Linked DNA regions of Homo sapiens: region 2 is linked to region 1. The links are contacts of gene promoters, found by promoter capture Hi-C in human tissues and cell types (Jung and others, 2019). All regions are on one chromosome and are shown on one strand. Each heading gives the region's core, a stretch centred on a gene start or on the middle of the fragment in contact. The rest is flanking DNA. Distances are from core to core; before and after follow the strand shown. Region 1 holds the start of BST1 (bone marrow stromal cell antigen 1). Region 2 has its middle 160 kb from the start of LINC01085.

Evidence for each region. The method cuts DNA at HindIII sites, captures the fragments that hold promoters and counts their contacts. A contact is called where the count stands out against the background at its distance.
Region 2: a fragment that was not itself captured here is called in contact with the fragment with the promoter of BST1 in region 1 in 1 of the 25 tissues and cell types used here (dorsolateral prefrontal cortex).

The regions. Positions count from the first base shown.
Region 1 is chr4:15,701,618-15,704,317 of GRCh38, forward strand. BST1 (bone marrow stromal cell antigen 1) reads left to right here and starts at 1,448. Exons shown (of 9, transcript NM_004334.3): 1 at 1,448-1,715. The coding sequence starts at 1,528. RefSeq lists a silencer at 1,387-1,466. The HindIII fragment of the contact is 14,003 bases long and covers 1-2,700 here.
Region 2 is chr4:13,953,941-13,956,640 of GRCh38, forward strand. No RefSeq gene overlaps it. Among named protein-coding and RNA genes, the nearest start is that of LINC01085, 160 kb to the right of the region's middle. The HindIII fragment of the contact is 5,999 bases long and covers 1-2,700 here.

The DNA.
Region 1 (2,700 bases), core at 198-2,697:
AGACGGAGTCTCACTCTGTTGCCCAGACTGGAGTGCAGTGGCCCGATCTCGGCTCACTGCGAGCTCTGCCTCCTGGGTTCACGCCGTTTTCCCGCCTCAGCCTCCCGAGTAGCTGGGACAACAGGCGCCCGCCACCGCGCCTGGCTAATCTTTTGTATTTTTAGTAGAGACGGGGTTTCACCGTGTTAGCAAGGATGGTCTCGATCTCTTGACCTCGTGATCCACCCGCCTCGGCCTCCCAAAGTGCTGGGATTACAGGTGTGAGCCACCGCGCCCGGCCAATCCTGGCTCTCTTAAACTGAACATCTCCAGGATTTTGCATCTATCAGGAAGGGATATTGTGACCTCTGACAAGTTACAGTCGGCGGTAGGTATCCATGGAGAATTGGTTCCAGGAACCTCCTGGATACCAAAATCCACAGATGCTCAAGGCCCTTATATTAAATGGTGTAGTATACAGTATTTGCACATCCTCTTCTATAATTCACGTCATCTCCAGATTCCTTGTAATATCAAGTACTATGTAATTGTTACATAAGTAGTTGTTACATTGGATTATTTAGGGAATGATGACAAGGAAAAAAAAGTCCGTACATGTTCCGTACAGATGCAAGCATTCTTTTTTTCCTCAAATGTTTCTCATCCGTGGTTAGCTGAATTTGGATGATGAATCCGCAAATCTGGAGGGCCGAACATGCTTAACTTCCCTGAGTTTATCCATTGCTAAAGCGAGAGAAATTACAAACTTAGCTAGGAAGGGTGTTGCGGAAAGTAATTAATATTATACTTGCAAAGTGCTTGGCACGTTGTTGTGGTTATTATTTCCTGAAAACAAACAAACACCACTTATTGGTTGGTGTGAAAGAGGGCATCTGTCAAAGTTGTCGTCCTTTGGAGCCAGAAAAGTATTTCTTCTGATGATGACTGACCTCTCCTCACCTCTCCTTCAACCTTGCGGCTTCTTTGGGGCTCCCTCCCCGTGGACAGCGGTCAAGATTAGCCTGGGCCACAGTGCACTGGTCCTGTCCTGGGTGATGTTCCAAGCTCACTCTTTTTTAATTTTATTTATTTATTAATTTTTTTTTTAGACAGAGTCTCACTCTGTCGCCCAGGGCTGGAGTGCAGTGGTGCAATCACTGCTCGCTGCAGCCTCGATCCCCTGGGGTCAAGCCTCCTCACATCTCACCTCGCAGGTAGCTGAGACTACAGATGCGCACCACCAGGACCAGCTAAGTTTTGTATTTTTTTGTAGAGAGGAGGTTTCTCACCTGTATGTTACTCAGGTTTGTCTCGAACTCCTATACTCAAGCGATCCGCCCGTCTAGGCCTCTCAAAGTGCTGGGATTACAGGCATGAGCCGCCGCGCCCCGCCCCACGCTCAGTCTTGAAATTGTCTGGAACGGGAAACGGCAAACAGCGAGATATCCGAGCGAGAGTCCCGCCCTGCATCAGTTTGCGGAACCGCCTTGGTAGAAGGAGAGAAGGGGAGTGGAGGAAGCACGGGACTGGAGGGACCAAAGTTCCCCGATGGCGGCCCAGGGGTGCGCGGCATCGCGGCTGCTCCAGCTGCTGCTGCAGCTTCTGCTTCTACTGTTGCTGCTGGCGGCGGGCGGGGCGCGCGCGCGGTGGCGCGGGGAGGGCACCAGCGCACACTTGCGGGACATCTTCCTGGGCCGCTGCGCCGAGTACCGCGCACTGCTGAGTCCCGAGCAGCGGTGAGGCAGTCGGCCGGGTGGAAGGGGAGCCGGAAAGAGGCAACGGTGGGGAGGGCCTGGGGAGGGGAAAACTGGCGCTAAAGTTCGGGGTGAGGGGGCAATGAGAGAGGCCTTGAGGGGAGAGGTGAGTGTGGAGACAGCGATGGTCCTGAACGATGGGGGCGAGTGAGGAGGGGGCTGTGAAGTGTGTCTGCAGGTGAGGGGTGCGCTGTGCGGGGTCTAGAGATGAGTGTGTGTGTGTGCGCGCACACACACACTGTAGAGGTGAGGGGTGTGTGCGTGTGTTCTAGAGGTGAGGGGGGTGTGTGTGTGCGCGCGCTCTAGAGGTGGGAGGTGTGTGTGTGCTCTAGAGGTGGATGTGTGTGTGTGTGCTCTAGAGGTGGGGGTGTGTGTGTGTGTGTGTGCTCTAGAGGTGAGGGGTGTGTGTGTGTGTTCTAAAGGTGAGATGTGTGTGTGTGTTCTAGAGGTAAGGGGTGTGTGTGTTCCAGAGGTGAGGTGTCTGTATGTGTGTTCTAGAGGTGAGGGGTGTGTGCATGTGTGTTCTAGAGGTGAAGGGGGTGTGTGTGCGTGCGCTCTAGAGGTGAGGGGTGTGTGTATTCTAGAGGTGAGGGGTGTGTGTGTTCTAGAAGTGAGGGGTGTGTGTGTTCTGGAGGTGAGATGTGTGTGTGTGTGTTCTAGAGGTGAGGGGTGCGTGCATGTGTTCTAGAGGTGTGTGTGTATCTGTGTTCTAGAGGTGAGGGGTGTGTGTGTGTAGTCTAGAGGTGACAGGTGTGTGTGTGTGGTCTATAGGTGAGGGATGTGTGTGTGGTCTAGAGGTGAGGGATGTGTGTGTGGTCTAGAGGTGAGGGGTGTGTGTGTTCTAGAGGTGAGGGGGTGTATGTGTATTCTAGAGCTGAGGAGAGTGTGTGTTCTAGAGATGAGGTGTGTATGTGTGTTCTAGAGGTGAGGGGTGTGTGTGTGTTCTGGAGTTGAGGGGTGTGTGTTC
Region 2 (2,700 bases), core at 39-2,538, 1.7 Mb before region 1:
AGAATTAAAATCAGGTCTCCTCACCATGCCCTGGAGTCTTTCCTTCTATCTGTCAGTATCTTCTTTGTTTGAGTGAGTAAAGATGAAATAGTAGGTAAGCAGGTCAAGACACCAGACCTAAGTTTTACCTGAGTTTGTCCAGTGGCAAGCATGTCTTCCTTCTAATTAATCTGCACCTAATAATGCCTTCTCTTCCCTTGGCTTTATAACCAGTATAGCATGGGGTCCTGGAAATAAATGGTAGAAGGGAAAGAAAACCTAATAGACATCCAGCAGCTTCTATAAGCCAAAATTGTTCTAGGTGCTTTATTATGTTTGCTTAGTTTATTTTCACAATAACCCTAGGAAGCTGGTATTTTTAGGTCTGTTTCAAAATGATGAAAGGGGCTCAGATGGATTTGGTCAGGTGCTCAGGGTCTCACAGTTGATAAGTGACTTGTGCTTAGTGCATAACTTTCCAAAGCCAATATTCTGTCAGAGTCCACCAGAATGTAAGTGCCACAAAGGCAGGGATTTTAAACATCTGTTTGTTTTTTGTTTTTGTTTTTTTCCCTGCTATTGCTTATAATACTGATAGCACATAGTAGGCACTCAATAAAATTTTGTTGAATTGATGAGTGACTGACACAAAACTATACTGGCTGTACTAGTCTGTTCTTGCATTGCTGTAAAGAAATACCTGAGACTAGGTAATTTATAAGAAAGGAAGTTGAGTTGGCTCATGGTTCTGCAGGCTGTACAGAAGGTATAGCGGCTTCTGCGTCTGGGAGGCCTCAGGAAGTTTCCAGTCATAAAGGAAGGCAAGGAGGGAGCAGGCACGTGACTGAAAGCAGGAGCAAGAGAGAGAGTGGGGAGATGCTAAACACTTTTAAATGATTAGATCTCATGAGAACTCACTATCATGAGGACAGTACCAAGGGAGATGGCGCTAAAGCATTCATGAGAAACCGCCTCCCCTCATGACCCAAACACTTCCCAATGGGCCCCACTTCCAACATTTGGGATTCCATTTCAATATGTGATTTGGGCAGGGACACACATCCAAACTATATCACAGGTCTTAAGACCTGGAGACTAGAGATTTTTGAGTCCCCCAAAAATACAACATAGAAGGAAAATTTTCCAATTTAATATTTTGTAATCCACTAGCTTTCAAAACATCTGCAAGGGAGCACAGTATATTTAAAACGCCTCCTCCAAGCTGTCCGATGCCAGGTGTTGTATATAAAGTGAAAGCAATATTCTAAGAATATGAGAAGTGTGTGTACGTGTGTGTGTGTGCTGTTACATTGTTAAGGGTATTTTTTTAAAGTTGTAGTTAAGGGGAGAAAAAGCAATTATATCTAGCAATTGTATTTTTGTTTGTTTGTTTTGAGACTGAGTCTCTCTCTGTCACCCAGGCTGGAGTGCAGTGGCGTGATCTCAGCTCTCTGCAACCTTCCAGGTTCAAGCGATTCTCCTGCCTCAGCCTCCCGAGTAGCTGGGACTACAGGCATGTGCCACCATGCCCAGCTAATTTTTTTGTATTTTTTTTTAGTAGAGATGGGTTATCACTGTGTTAGCCAGGATGGTCTCAATCTCCTGACCTTGCGATCTGCCCTCCTCGGTCTCCCAAAGTGCTGGGATTACAGGTGCGAGCCACCGTGCCCGGCCAGCAATTGTATCTTATAGAGCAGTTGTCCCCAACCCCCAGTCCACAGACTAGTACTGGTCAATGGCCTGTTAGGAACCAGGGCCACACACCAGAAGGTGAGCGGGGTGGGGGTGAGTGAGCATTACTGCCTGTGCTCTGCCACCCGTCAGATCAGTGGTGGCATTAGATTCTCATAGGAGCATGAATACTACTGTGAACTGAGCATGTGAGGGATCTTGGTTGTGAGTTCCTTATGAGAATCTAATGCCTAATGTTCTGAGTGGAACAGTTTCATCCTGAACTGCCCCCCTCCACAGTCCACGGAAAAATCATCTTCCACGAAACTGGTTCCTGGTGCCAAAAAGCTTGGGGGCCACAGTTATAGTGTATTCCAGCACACGGAGCGCAACCACGAGATGTGCCTAGTGAGAGAAGCTGACTGGGCATTTGGAAAGTTGGGACAGGCAGATTGCTTCTCATCTCACTGGGACAGAGCTAATCTGCAGGCTAACTAATATCCTTACATCCACCACTTTCCAAATCACAGCAACTTGCCCAGAAACGTACCTTTCTCATTCCTGCCTCTTCAGGATATGGCTCACGTAGGCACCCCAGAAATGCCTGCTGAGTGAAATGATGATGTGTCCCTATAGAAATGATATTTTTCTCTGCAAGTGCACATGCCCCAGGTATTGCAAATCTATGATCTTCCCCCAAGAATAACCTCTGGTTCATTTTGGGTTGAGTCAGGATGTAACTAATTTTCACTACTTTTGCAGTTTATCACATCCTTGCTTCATCCTTGCTCCGAACAGTCAGCTAAGATATTATCTCCATGTTGCAAGTAAAGCAAAGTAGGCTCAGAGAGCCTGAAGAATCTTCCCAAGGCCACTCAGCCAGGAAGTGGGAGCAGAAGGATGTTAGCCCTGCTCTACTGAACTTCAAGATGCGACCAGTTCTGAACAGTAAAGGACTAACCTTGAGCAATGAAAGGTTTGGGCCTTGACTGTCTCTTGGGAGATCACCTCTAAGCACCTGGAATATCAAATATCATTTTTTGTTTGTTT